Linked DNA regions of Homo sapiens: region 2 is linked to region 1. Evidence: promoter capture Hi-C in human tissues and cell types (Jung and others, 2019). All regions are on one chromosome and are shown on one strand. The core of a region is centred on a gene start or on the middle of the fragment in contact, and the rest is flanking DNA. Distances in the headings are between cores, read along the strand shown. Region 1 holds the start of PRICKLE1 (prickle planar cell polarity protein 1). Region 2 has its middle 190 kb from the start of LINC02461.

What was found. The method cuts DNA at HindIII sites, captures the fragments that hold promoters and counts their contacts. A contact is called where the count stands out against the background at its distance.
Region 2: a contact is called between a fragment that was not itself captured here and the fragment with the promoter of PRICKLE1 in region 1, in 3 of the 25 tissues and cell types used here (dorsolateral prefrontal cortex, mesenchymal stem cells and mesendoderm cells).

Annotation. Positions count from the first base shown.
Region 1 is chr12:42,584,822-42,592,321 of GRCh38, forward strand. PRICKLE1 (prickle planar cell polarity protein 1) reads right to left here and starts at 4,925. Exons shown (of 8, transcript NM_153026.3): 1 at 4,644-4,925. RefSeq lists a silencer at 4,929-5,178 and an enhancer at 5,648-6,205. The HindIII fragment of the contact is 9,160 bases long and covers 83-7,500 here.
Region 2 is chr12:42,962,738-42,970,237 of GRCh38, forward strand. No RefSeq gene overlaps it. Among named protein-coding and RNA genes, the nearest start is that of LINC02461, 190 kb to the right of the region's middle. The HindIII fragment of the contact is 5,134 bases long and covers 2,066-7,199 here.

The sequences.
Region 1 (7,500 bases), core at 3,675-6,174:
GGAGTCTACTTACGGGTCTGCATCTCACAGCAATATTTTCATTGCATTATTGACAGATCTTTCTTCCGGAGACCCAATGAGAAAAGGACACAGAGAGAAGCACACGCAAAGCAGAAGCTGGTGGGTGCTATAAATCAGCAGCTGGGACAAAACTCTTAGAAAGGAGTCCATGACTTCAGTACCAGAACAACTGAAATAACACAGCCCTAACTTTTTTTTTTTTTTCTGAAGTGTAATCCACTAGAAATGAAAGGCATCTCTCCCAAGAGTTTACCCCAAATCTACCAGTGAGAAAAATGCAACTGCTGTTGAATTGGTCAGTTGACTTTTAGGCTCACTTAGGACCAAACTTAGGGGAGAAGAAAGTTAAGTAAAGGCAAATGATAGCTGCTTGCTAGTTTGCAGCTTACATTTTAAAATGTTTACATTGGCTTCTGCCTGGCTGACATTTTTACTTTTATTTTATATGTAAAATCTCTCTTTATAGGAGAATGAAGCTGGAAAGGTCTAATCGGTTCAGGCTGGGCAATCATTCTTGTTCCTGGAGAGGTCCCTTCAAAAATAACCAAAATGCATTTAGAGTTTAGTCTAAACAAGTGCATAAAACTGAGACACAGGAAGAATTATTACATTCTGAGAGGTTTGATCACCCTCCCCACCCCCCACAACTGGAAATAGTCAATGCCAGTGGACCAGTGGCTCAGGAATGGTTCTTGGAAAAATTGTGTCATTCTGGCATACAGAAAAGTGATCTGATTATTCTATCATATCTCTGTGCCAGAAGTGTCATGACATCAGCGTGCTCCAACCTGTAAAGCCTGTCTGGTTCGCCATCCCTGCTTCAGGAGAGAGGGGAAGTGGGGGGAAATAGCAGCTTACTCAGATTCCCCATACAATTTTAGGCCAGGCTTTTTTCACTGCTCCAAAATGTTCATTCATCAACACGTAGGTAATTAACCTCCACTTCAGTTCAGCATGACCATAAACAAGGGGATGTGATTACCAGTTACTGGGGCAGATGAAGCGCTACATTTCTGTGTGTCCAGAGATGGGGAAGTCAGAGGCTTGGGGCTGCTCCAGATTCCTCAATGCCATCTTGGTCCTTGGAACGTGCTGTGGAGCGCTGGCTCCATAGGCTGCATGAGGTTTCGAGGAACTGCAACAATGCAGGACTTGGTGCCCAGATTACTGTACTTCCCTCTCTCAACTTGCTTGCTCACACCAACCTTCTAAAGATATTATTGTGCAATCCAATAATCCTTTCTTCTGTGACCAGAAGAAAAAGAAGTAATGGTCCCTTAAAACACCAATCGACCAACCAAGCAACCCAGAAACACAATCCTTTCACTTTCCTAACTCCTTCTCTTTATTGTGGAATAATCATACATAGATTTAGGCAATCTTAATATTCTCTCACTAATAAGGGTTAAACAGTTGGTATTATTTTACATAACATGGAGATGAGAGAGACAGCTATTTTTTCCAAGGGGGAAGAGTCTATCCTAGTCAAATGATACTTTTAACATTTCTATTCACAGATGAGAATCACTTTGATTTTTTAAAATTACCTTTTTTTTTTTTTTTCCCCAGAGATGGGGTCTAACAATGTTGGCTGGGCTGAACTTGAACTCCTGGGCTCAAGCGATCCTCCCCAGTAGCTGGGGCTATAGAGCCAAGCACCACTACATGTAGCTTTCCTGTCTTTCTTTAAAAGGAAAAATTTGCTCTTTATAAACTATTTTAACCAGGAAATTAACTGCAGTAAGTAGAATATAAGTAATGATAATCTTTACTGAAAATTGTTTCCCATGATATTAGAGAGCCCAAAATATAGGTATAGGCCATTAAGAGAGTTACTTAATTACTGGAAAATACTTTGTAAAGATTCTTGTTCCATTTCATGAGTATTATAGACAATCACTCATAATACTTAATTCTTTGTATTTTGCTTTCAAGTAATTATAAGAGATTTTAGAGAAATTATGATGCAACTTTTAAAACTTATAATTCAGCTTACTTTTTAAAAGCCTTAATCAAAGAAACTGCAAAATTTAACTTTTTTGGTCTTTTCAGAATTATCAAAAGAGAGAATATTAGGAACAACTAGACTTACCTACATCTGACTCTAAAGTTAAGAGTTCAGCTATTAACCCTATAGGAGATCTTTATTTCTCCCTAGCTAATATTAGATTTTATCTGGGGGACTCAAGCTGACTTATTACACCACCACACACCATGGACAAATAGTGCTTCCATGGACCTTGATTATAAAAACATAATAAGCTTTTTAAGCTTCACTGGTGTTACTGGCAGAACTGATTGAATCTGTCACTTTAGTAAAATATATCATTTTTCTTTTTAAAACCTATGAACCAACAGGCTCACTCGGTGATAACTCGCCAATTAGTACCAAATTAAAGATGGAAAAATTAATTTACTAAGCCCATTCAGTTGCATCAATATGTCTATCTCTATAAACTATCCAGTTTTTCCTTCCTTTTTCCCTCCCTCTCTCCATCCCTCCCTCTTTTCCTTCCTTCCTTCCTTTTGAGGCTTATTTATAAGAATGAATCATACTACATTAGCCATGACTTATTAAACTTGGAGATTTTCAAGTTCATCAGCAAGTGTGCAAACCCTTAACTGTGGGTAACATCCATTTATTTGTAGCACCTTTCGGTTTTAATATGTAGAGCACATGCATTGTTAACCTCTAAATCCTTTGTATAAACATTTCTGGAAGAGCTGGTAAAATATCTCCTTCTGTGTTTCCTGACTCGCCAGTTGATGGCATTTAGAAACCCTCTGGTACCAGCAGGTGCTGTATTTTGCTTTCTTCAGGCTCCAGCTGGGCTACAATGACAGATTCCTGTCCCAGGCCAAGCCTAGCCACCAAGGCTAGGACCACATTGGAGGCAAACTGAACCAGGCTCCACCAGACAGCAAGATGAATGGCTGCTGTTTAAGTTTAAAATCCCCTGGTGGGAGTAAATATTGTTCCAGAGAAAAGCCTTGACAAATACTGCGTCATCCTTACAGAACTGTCTTGATTAAAGCAGAATCTTTGGATTAAGTTGATGCTCAATTCAAAATGTATCTATCTTGCTGTCATGGGATTTTTTTTTGTTTTTTTTTTCCTTTCTAGAGTCTGAAAACAGACATAATGTTGGGGACGGTCAAACAAGGCTGCCGGCTCCCAAGGGGCTAGAGTCCACTCCTGATAATAGAAGGCGGCTGAACACTGACACTTCACTGAGGATAATGGAGACAGCAAAGGCTTAGTGGGAAAGGGCCAGTTGTCACCTAAGTGACAGGCAACAGCTGAGCTCACACATCTGGAGCCGGACTACGGCAAACATTAGCAACCCTCACCAGTCTACACCTTGGGCCTGTCTGAAAAGACAGATGGAAGTTCCCTCTACTCCTAAAGTACATTAAAAAATGTCTGATGGTGAACCACATCAATTATATAACATCAACTGCAGGCACAGCCTTCCAAAGTACTGATTAAGACGAGGCAGTAGACAACACTGTATGCATGAACAGATACAAGATACCATTTCAGTGATTTGTCATTCATAAAACTTATCCTAAAAGACACATATACATGCATCCATTTGATAGCACAAATGCATGTTAACTCTGCAGGAGAGGCAGATTTTTACATGTTTTTTTGGTTGTAGTTGTTGGTGCTTTTTTTTTTTCCTTTAGGCTGGTTCCCGTGGTGTGTTTGCCTTGTTCATGGTCTCAGTTCTGCCGCTGATACCCTTTTAAAAATCAGCAACCAAACGCGTTCGGCTTGTGATCCTGAACCCTCCTTAGGCAAGCTGGAACTAAGCGTGATGCAGCCGTCCTCCCTCTCTCCCAACCCCCAACCTCGTTCTTCAGCCTCCTGAAGACAATCTGTGAACAATTTTCCCAAAGTCCCAAGAATAACACAGCACTGCCAATAGTCACTGGCGATGCCGTTTGTTTTTCTTAGAGGGTAATGAAAATTTAACAGCTTTCTGCTGCATCCTGAGTCCCGCTCCTAATAACTATTAACATGCCTAGTTTCTTCAACTTTTTCTACCTCAAGAGAGGAAGACGCTCCCATTTTTTCCCTATATCTGTGCTACATTCAGCAAACACCATCGCGGGGCAGGGGGTTGGGGAGAGTGGTGGGAGTTGATTCGCCTCTGCCAAAAAGCCACCAGCCCCTTTCCCCAGCGCTAGAGGAGAGAATCGGTACCCTCCCTCCGGACGCCAGTAGGTGACAGGCGATCCTAAGCGGCGGGAACACGCCAACGCACCCTCGCCTCCCGGCGCCCCGCATCGCCTCGACCCTCGGGCTACAGAACCTGTTTCCACGCCGGAGAAAACCAAGGGAAGAGTTGGTTGTGATGCAGCAAACAGGAGCCATGCGGAGAGCCTCTGCGGAGCCCTGGCGATGCTGCAGCCAATATCTGCTTTCCCTGTCTACACAGCCCAACAAACCGATTATGACCTTCTCCCTGATCTTCTGCGACACCGACCCAGTCTGGGTGTCACAGACTCCGGCGGTGCCAGCGAAGGTGCCCGGCCCTACCCCTGCGGCGCTCGCCCCCCACCACCGCGCCGCAGCCCCCTCTGCGGAATCCGCCGGGATCCAGGCTGCCACTCACCTCGCGCGAGGGAGACGCAACTCGGCTGCACTGTCCTCGGCGCCGCTGCGGGGCTGCTGGGCTGCGGGGCTGCGGGGCTGAGGAGCTGCGGTCCGCGGCGTCAGGGGTGGGCGAGGGTGAGCAGCGCACGAACCATCCAGAGCCCAGAAAGTCTCCGTGCCGACCGCGGCGCGTCTCGGGGAAGTCAGCGCAGGCTGCGCGAGGCTGGCATGTTCCGGGCGCGCTGTCGGGCGGCGGCGGCCGCGGGAGACGGCGCTGGCAGCTGGGCTGCAGGCGGAGTGCGCTCGGGCTCCGGAGCCGCGCGCTGCGGCGCCGCCGCGCACCCCGCCCTCGGCCGCGGGGCCCGGCGCGAGCGAAAACGCGGAGCGCGGACGCCGCCGCGGGATCGAGGCCGCTGGGCGCGCGCCCACGCGTACCCCGGCTCGGCCCTGAAAGCGAGGTCGGGCCCGGCTCGGGCCGCGCCCGGGGGCAGGGCTGCGAGCAGGCCTGGGACCGGCTCCACGCGCAGCCAGTGGGGCAGAGCAGCAGGCGGATTATGCGCAGGGAGAAAAAAGTTCACCAACCGCGGTCCAGAGTCGCAAGTGCGGCTCGCTCGGAGCCTCTGCCCCGCCCCCGATTATAAGCCTTTTTTTTTTTTTTTTTTTAACCAACAATCCCGATGGACTGAAACACAGGAAGAGTGAAGGGACGGGGTGGGGGGTGGGGGAGAGACAAACCCAATTTCCTCTGATCAAACGATTTGGGTAGGGGTGCCTATTTGAGTTCCTTCTCCTTCGGGGGGTGTGTGAAGGGGGCAGTTAATTAAACACTTAGATTCCTTCCGGCGCGCCTTGCCGAGCTGGGGACCCGTTTGGACTCGATCCTGTCTCGTGTAATCCCACAGGCTGGTCTGAGTCTCTGCCCCGGAACCGGAGGAGTGATCTTTCAGAGCAAGAAGCCAAAGTTCAGCCTCTAGTCCGTTCCCTTCCCCGCCTCGACGGCCCTGGTCGTCTCCATGAAAACTCAGTGTGGGGGATCGTGCCCGCGAAAACCTCAGCCCACCGCAATGTCCAGAGCCTGACCCAAGTGAACGTGGCGCACTTAAAAGCGGGTTCAAAGCATTGATCCGAACACGGTGACAATTTTTCACTGGCCAAACTACTCTCCACATTTTCAGTCTGCTCAATTCCCAGAGCTGGGCTCTCAGGCGCACTCACCCACGTTGAACTGGGGCTCAGCCTGTTTGAAAGTTCTGCCCTGACATTTGTGTCACACTAAACCTTAGAACCCCCCACCCTCTCCAGTTCCGGATCGGTGGAGTCTCACCGTGTGGGTACTATTTCCCTGGACTGCAGAGGGCAGACACAGGCGGCAGCTGTTAACCCGAACTTGACAGGTGCCTCTGCAAAGCCAGGGCTTCCTTGACCTCTCCATCCTCTCCACAACGCTCTAGGATACTGTATCATCTTCCAGGAAGATGAGGATGTGTGTGGGGGGAGTGTGGAGGGAGGTGTTGACTGATGCAATTTTTATCCTTTTAAGAAAAATCAAAACTGCCAGTCTCAGAATTTCTCAGAACATCAAGTCTTTTCGATTTTCGTTGGGAATAAAGCAAAGGAATACTCAGCAAAAATGGAGCCGATGAAAAGAGAATGCAAGGAAATAAAGGCAAATGGAGGAGGAAACTGTCTAAATCCAGGAAAATGTATGGCTTCAGCACTGTGCTCTATAATTCTGACTCAGATCTCCCCACGCTGTAGATACTTTCTCCTGTCTAGATGCCCAGGCAGAGTTCCTGAGCTCAGATCACTCAGGAAACAAGGCTGTTGCTTTTGAAATAATTCCACTTGCTAGCGTTGTTTTTTTTTTTTTTTTTTTTTTTTTTTTTTTTTGAGACGGAGTTTCGCTCTTGTCACACAGGCTGGAGTGCAGTGGCGCGATCTCCGCTCACTGCAACCTCCGCCCCGCCCCCGTGTTGAAGCGATTCTCCTTCCTCAACCTCCCGAGTAGCTGGGATTACAGGCACCTGCCACCGCGCCCAGGTAATTTTTGTATTTTTAGTAGAGACAGTTTCCCCATGTTGGCCAGGCTGGTCTCGAACTCCTGACCTCAGGTGACGAGAATCTGGGAAAGAACAAACCAGGTTTTCTTGCCCCTCAGCATTTTATTGGAATTGGCCTTTGAAGTTGTGTCTGTTTATCTTGCTGGGGTTACAAATGCTTCTATTAAGCTATCAACTTTTAGGTTCTATCTAACCTCCAGAACTGCCAAAGAAAATTTCACTACCTCCATAGGTGAAATAAATCTTATTGCTGTACAGTGACTTCACAAAGGTTTTGTTTGTTGAGCATCTATTATGTGGAGCAGACACCCTGAGCACTGTGGATGATACATGGTCATTCCCTCTGGAGGATTACTGCCTCTTTGGACTGTGTGCTGGGCAGCATCTTTTGGATCCATTGCAAAGGTGAATACTTGGCCTTCAACCAGGACTCATAAAATTACTCCGGCCAGTGCATGTGATGGTCTGAGGTCACAACAGTCTGATTTCAAATTTCAGCCCCACCGCTTACCAAATGTAGCCTGGGGTAATGTAGTTAACCTCTCTCAGGCTTAGTTTCTCATTGGTAAGTGAGGGTAATAATATTCAGCTCAGGGAACTGTTGGGAAGATTGAATGCTGCAGAAATCACTGGAACGTTTGTATTTCATTTTATAAGGCATCTTCTCACAAGCACCCTTCTCTATAGCAGCCTCCATGCAAAATCCCACAAGTAGAAAAGAACTGTTTTTTATTTAATCTGAAAAAGCATTCTTCATTGTGAACTCTTGAATTGCTCCTGGGTCTCTTTTTCTTTTTTCTGAGTCTGTTTTATTAA
Region 2 (7,500 bases), core at 3,383-5,882, 380 kb after region 1:
ACATCTGGGCCTTTTTTATATGTTTATTTAGTGAGTTAATAGTTTAGGTTTTTGTTTTAGAGGCAAGTGGTAGGTAAGAATAGGTGTGTCTTCTTTGCATTTAGGACAAAAAAATTGAGAACTACACTAGATACAGAGTTAACTAAATTAAATTAATTAAACTATAACCCTTAGAGCCCTTTCCATCATTTGTATACAACTGGTGTCTATCACCCGGCAAATGAGCAGAGAAGAAAATGAGTTATTGTCTGCCTTTATACCTGCCTGTGTTCCTCTATAATTTTCAGCAAATATTTCTTCTTCTTTTAAGTGTTCCCTCAATGCCAGCTGTTATGTTAAGAACTGAGATGACAATATTGAAAGAGCAAAGAAGGTCACTGGGCTATGGAGGTTTACAATCTGCTGGAGGTTATAGACAAGTAAATGAGAAATTTAAATACAGTTGGATAAAGTAAAAGAGAAATCTCAGTTTCTTCTACTCTCAGATACCTAGTGTCTATTATTTTGAGATTTTGCTATTTCACTATTTTGTGAATTTTGCTTAGTGAATTGCTATTCATAAATTGCTATTAGTGAATTTTGCTATTTCACTATTTTGAGATTTTGCTATTAAAGTAATGTTGAAACATTATACAAAAAAAAAGAATCTGCTATATGGAAATGAGAAAACCTTAAAGAAATTGTGGCTGTGAGTCCATGAACTTCTGCAATGATGATTCCATGGCATGGTGAAATTTTACTTAATAAAATGCATTAGTGCAGACAAGCTGTAGTTTTAACATTCCCATGTGTATAATTTAAGAAGACGGCAACAAATTGGAATAGCACCAAATGAAACTCAGTAATAAGTGTCTGTTGAACGGATGAATAAAGAAAAACAAAACTGACTAAAGAGCTCTTCCTCTTGCCTCTTAGTTGAGAAACATTTGAATTATTCTTTGTAACATGCTTAATTTCATTCCTCATGTTAATGACTGCCTTGCTAGATCTCAATTATTTTTTCAGGTTTAATCTGTCTTTGTAAGAAATTCAGTAATTCTCTTATTTGTTCCGTTTTAGGAACATCTGTTGCAAATCTAGTATTGAGTTTATTTGAAACTAACAGCTGCCCAGTAGCCCATCAAAAGAAATAGCCTAGGTGAAAGCACCCTGTAGATTTCTTTCTAAAAGGTTCAGTTTCTAAAAATTTACCTTTCATTACATTTAAATTATGTGATATGAAACATATAGGGATGGCAACAATTCTCACTGTTAAGCACGATGGATCAGTATTTCGTGCTTATAGTAATCCTGATGTATTTAATCCAAATATTTAGATATTTCAAAGCTACAGAAGAGAAGAAAATGTTATAATTTGAACTTGAGGCCATCTGGCTTATCTGGATCTTGGCTAACACTTTCCAAGTGAAGTGCCCCTGCCTAGACTCTGCAAGTTTCTTTGACAAATTCCCAACTCATGTCTTTCTACAAATTATGTTAAAATAAATTTGAACGGTATAACAGTGAGTCTTTGAGTGGAGTTTGCTTTTCAGAACTAAGCAAACAACAAGCTACTACTAAAATAATCATTAAAAAGAAAACCACAAAACTGCTACCAGACTAGACTCTACAAATCTTGAAGCCTGTGATGCCTGTCTCAGAAGTTTTAGCTAATTTAGCAAGGGGCATTTGTGAAATGCTAGCAAAGACTCCTCTGGCCACATAAAATATGACAGCAATCATATACTCTTTAAACTTTGAATTTGTAGATTTGCTCAACGCCCAAATAGGACTTATGCTCATACAACTTAACTTTTGTGTAGAGTCTACTGTTCTAAGCTTCTACATACTGGCACTGTTCTAAGCTTCTATATACACTAGACAACAATCGTTAGAAGTGAAGACTGTTGCTAACCTCAGGTTGTAAATGAGCAACTGAAGTCGAATAACTTATTTATAGTGACACAGCAAATGGATGGGTAAAGTCTAAGGTCACTAAGCTAGCAATGGGAGGGTTAAAATTGAGACCCAGGCCTCTCTAATTCAAAATTCTATCTGCCCTACTGCAGTTGACGGCTCATCTTTTGGCAACTGCCTGCAAGAGTACAAAAGTAACCAAGAAGACACTAAGGCAGAACTCAAAACACAGCAACACTGTGTACCTCTATGGCAATATGCTGCTTCTCTGTTTTTACCCCATCTCCTAAACGTGAAGCCCTTTCTACCTCTTGCCTCTCTGCTCATTTCCTTTGGTCCCCACATTGTTTATTCCTACTATACATGAATACAGGCAATTCTTTCTAAAAGCTTATGGGAGACTGATAAAATGTCTACGTTATCAGAAGACAAAAGGGGAATCAAAAAGTATCTAGAAAAAAGGACTTCACAGAGACCAAAATATATTATTCAGACCTCAAAATCAGGTTTTGTTTTACAGTACTATTTCAATAAACTGACTATAGAGAATCATTAATTGATGACATTCTAGATTTGGAAAGAACCATAGAGAGAATCAAGTCAATCTCTTCACTGTAAAGTTGAAAGAAATGTGGCCTAGGGAGCAGAGATGACTTGTCCAAGATGACAAAGCCAGCAAGTGGCAGACCTGAGACTTCGCCATGGGGACCTTCAGGCTCAACTCATGTTCTCTCCTCTGACTCCTTGTTACAGAAACCCCCTCCTCGGCACACAGGATGGCTGCTTGGCCTCTCTTCACTGAGATTCCGTGCCTTGCTGAATGAGGCAGTGTACCTTGCCTTTAGGACTTGGAGTTCTAGAATTAGGTAGACTTGGGTTCAAATCCTGACTCTGCTGCTTGCTAATTGCATGAATCAAGTCTTAGTACTTACCCCCTTTAAGACTCCATTTCCTCCCCTGTAACATGAGAATGATACTACATGCTTCCTGCGGGTGTTGAGAAGATTAAAGGAAATAGTAGTTAATGTTTATAGATTCCTTGCTCTGTGTCATATTCTGTGCCAAGTATTTTATGATTATTTTTTTCATGTAATCCTTAAAAAGTACATAAAGTGCTCAGGCCATATAACAATAAATATGTTTGTTTGCATGCAAAGAGACACATACCCATACATGTATCAATTAGGAATCACACACACGCACACACACACACACACACACACACACGCACACACAGGGAATTTCATTTAAGCTTTGACTACATTGGCTTAAATAAATGTAGTCCTGTGGTAGGCAGTCCAGGGCCCTTGTGGTTGCCTCATGAAGCTCCAGGGACTCACACTCTTCCTGTCCTTCTGCCCTGCCAAAATCTTAGAAGACTGACACTCTCAAGGTCACAGGATGGCTGCTCAGTCACACCATCTGTGCTTCAGGTGCTTAAATAGCAGGAAGGGAGATGGGAAGGAACAGGAGGGCAAAACATGTTCTTCTGGAAGTGCTGCCCAAAGACATGTAAGTGCTCCTGTTTTCATATTGGCAATATTCCCTCTATAGGAAAGGCTGGGAAAGGTAATTTTTATTTGGGCATATTCTAACCCCAAGTATATGAAATGAGCAGGTAATTGGCAGTTTCTGTCATGTGTTTTTCAAGTCCAGATGAAGACTTACAACTCTCTCCAATCTATTGAGGAGGTTACTGTATATACAGACTGTGTATGTATATTTTATTATAAAGAAACCATGGCTATTTATTACATGTAGATGTGGGGTCTTAGTATATGTAGAGGTCAGGCATGTAAATATGATTGCTACATCATCTCAGAATTGGTAGCTGGGATTTAGGGCAAGGCCTCAGAAAAAAAAATTGTCAAACAACAAAATAGTTTGTTGTGTGTTTGAGTCACCAAAGCAGGATTCAGAAAGGAATACAACAGCAGAGCAGAGGCAAATCAGCTAGAAATGTGATCACAGGAAATCAAAGGAATAGGTGTGTAAGGACATGCCTTGGTAGAGAGAAATTATCTAGGAAAGGGAGCCATATATAGAAGGAGGAGTTCTGGAGAGTCTGAAAGGTACTCCAGCTCAAGAAGTTAGGAAGCTGTTTGAGGGGTAGTGAGACTTAACCTTGAGGTCAACACAGGGAGAAACTGCGAAGAGGTGGCCTGGCCTCCTCACTGATAGAAGGAGTGTGTGTGTGTGTGTGTGCGCGCGCGCGTGTGTGTGTGTGCGTGCGTGTGTGTGTGTGTGCGTGTGTGTGTGTGTGAGAGAGAGAGAGAGAATGAGAGAATAAATCTCCAGTTCTCCATTTCATTCTGGGGTCAGGAATGAGGTGAGAAATAGAAGGAAAATATAATACCTTGTAATAAGTTGCTCCAAGTTAACTGGAGTAATGAATATACATATTTACATTTCATGACATGTAATAAAATAAATTTTCTGCCCTCACTGCCTCTCTGAGCTTAGGCTTTTTTCAACACCCCCTACTCAGGGCCACCGGGGAGGAAAGGAAGAAAGCAGCACAGAGCCAAGTTTGAAGTCCTGGAAGAGAATCTCCTGAGACATTGGCTGAGGAACACAGAAAGTTACTTGTGGCAGAATCTTTCTGGAATTTTTCCATTCTGGGATACTCTGAGCCCATTTTGTCACAGGTCATCATGACTTGATGAATGAATATCATATTGGTTAATTCCTGCGGCTTAATAAAATCCTTTGTTCAAGAACAGCATGAAATTTTCAGAGTGTATCGACTCCTTGTTAGCTATGATTGAGACTAAGAGTGCCTGGCACATAATAATCACTCAATAAAAATTTAATTAAATTTATTAATAAAATAAATGAATGCAGAATTATCTAGAGAGCATTTAGTATGGCTCCAGTAAATGGCAATATGGTTATAATATGTTTACTTAATCGCTATTAATAGTGCTAGAAAAAACTAGCTTTATAAAGTACAATTTGAGTTTTTATTTTCTAGCATTGGTTGCGACCATTATGGTCAGACTCCTTCCATGGGGTGAAACAGTACCTTGAAAGAAAAACACAAAAAATCACTTTAAAATGTGTTGGTTTCTTGTTAAAGTGCCCTGAAACCATATCACTTTTTAAAAATCTATTCATGAGAATAAGAAAATCATTCTCCATGACCTCCATGAAGAAAACAAAGAACAGGTTAAATTATATTTAATATTTTACAGATATTCATAACAGATTGTCTAAAAAGCCTTTCCTGACTTTATCTTCTTTGTTCCCCTAAACATTTTTTTAAAGGATAAGCCTTAGAGACATAGATTTGATTAGCTCAATGTCTGTCCTACTTTACATACTTGAGTGTTCATTCATGCAATGAGAGTATGGCCCTGCTATGTTCAAGGCAGTGTGTCAAATAAGATCTGGTTCCTGCTTTTAGGGAGCTTTCAGTCCGCAGGAAGATAAGGATAAATAATCATTTAAAACATAGTGCTTTTACATGAAAGATAAAGATAAGTAATCAGTTAAAACATAGTGCTATTATGTGATATAAGTACTGAAATACAATGACGGTACATGTTATAATGGTGATTTGCATAAGATCCTCTTGCCATATAGAGGTGGTTCAGCGTAATTTTTTTAAGAGCTCAAACATGGGTATTTGAAGTCTGGTTTCTAATACTACCTATACCCCTCACTAGCTGTGTGATGTTAGGCAAATTACGTTGTCTCTCAGTCTCCTTATCTGTAAAGTGAAGACAACAGTAGTATTCATCTCAAAAGGTGTTTTGATTTTATGAGATATACTTATTATGAAATCACTTAGAATAAAATAAAAACTCCTTGCAATCATGCTAGATTCCAGTCTCTGCCCCTCTCATCAATCTCATCTTTCTCACCCTCTCCTTTACTTGTTACACACCAGCCACACTTTCTCTATGTCCTGTAATATACCAAGTCTTCCCTACTTTGGGCCTTAGAACATGCTGACTCCTTTTCTGAAATGCTCTAATACCCCAACTCCCACCAACTAATGGTGACTCATCTCTGAGATTTCAGCCTAAATATCTTTTCACAGGTCACAGCTCAAGCATCTTTCTCCTGATCTCAAAGTGTATATCAGTTCTATTCACGTTTCTGTTTTCTTTCCTACCTGCCTGTTGTTTTCTTACACAGTACTTGTAATAATTTTAATTCTATCTTCTTCTGTGTATATACAATATTTATCTTCCTCCCTAGACTGTAGCTCAAGAGGGTGAGGATCATATCTTTTTCATCACCGTAAACTCATTTCACCACAAAGCTTGGCAAGGAGGATATACTTTAAATATTTAGATTTAATAGGAAATAAATGAATGGAAACATGGCTTTGCATATAAAGCATTAACACTGTGTCTGGCTTATAGTAAGAGTTTTATAAATGCCAACATTTATAATTTTAAACAGCAGGTATTAGATTTAGAGAGTGAGAGGGGTCAGAAAATTTTCCTGGAGGAAGTGACATTGGAATTGAAGTTTGATATCAAGTTCTTACTTTCTCATGTTTTTGGGCTTTACAGAACAGGGATTGTTAGGCTATATCAGTATGTTTTATGACAATCCATAAGAATTTTAAGAAAAAAAATGACTAATCCCTTTACTTTTGAAATTATTTAGCATAGTTTCTTCTGATGTGTTCAAAGCACTGCTTCACATTATCTCTTGGAGGCAGGTCACAGGAAAGATGGTTATTTCTGTTTCAGAGATAGAGAATTACAGAACAAAGAACAAAAGTGAAGTCAGGCTATGTGGTGGACCTTCTGGAACAGATGAAGGAATAAAAGGCAAAGGGCATCAAAGCAAACGTTAAAGCCAACAGGTCAAGGAAAGTATTACCGAATTCCCAGCAAGTTACATGTTTGGCTGCCGCAGGCTACATGCTGGAGCTGATATGTCCAAAGGGAGCATTCCGGAAAAGGGAGTGGTCTCCGTTCCAGCAGTCTGGACTCCCCAGAGTGAAACTCAAGATAGCCTCATTAGGAATCAGGATGGCTCTGTCAGAATAGGCCCTAGCCATGATTCCATGGACTGAAATGACCTCCAGCAGGTAAAAATAAGAGCTGATGAAGTCTGAGGACTTGCAAGGTGCTCACAGTCCTCATTTAGGAAGATTTTCCAGGATATACAGAAGATCTCAGATTAGAATACCTATTTATGGGGTTTTATAGGAAACCACCATGCTGCCACATACTCTATTATTTCAACTTTGCCAACTTAAGCTCATTTAAAGAGCTTAAAATAATCAAAGATGCTAAGTATTTAACATATGTTTCCGTAAAATGAGTGGAAGGAAGAAGGATAAGATCTTCCTTTTGGGCAATTCATTGGCGACTACTGCAGGAAGAAAAAAGTTTTGATTTTTGTTCAAGGAAGTTTTTTTTGTCTTTTTCCATTCTTCCTTCCTGTCTGGCCCCTAAAGTAAAAACTCCCAGAAAGCATAAAAACAGAGACTATCAAGCCTGACTCAGTTTCCTCTGTCTCCTCTTTGGCAGGCTTTTCCCAGCCCATCCGAATCACTGAAATCAGTATCATTCTTGAAATGAATACGGTTGCTTTCTCCTGCCTAACATGCCAGTCTCAGAGACTAAGGCTATGATT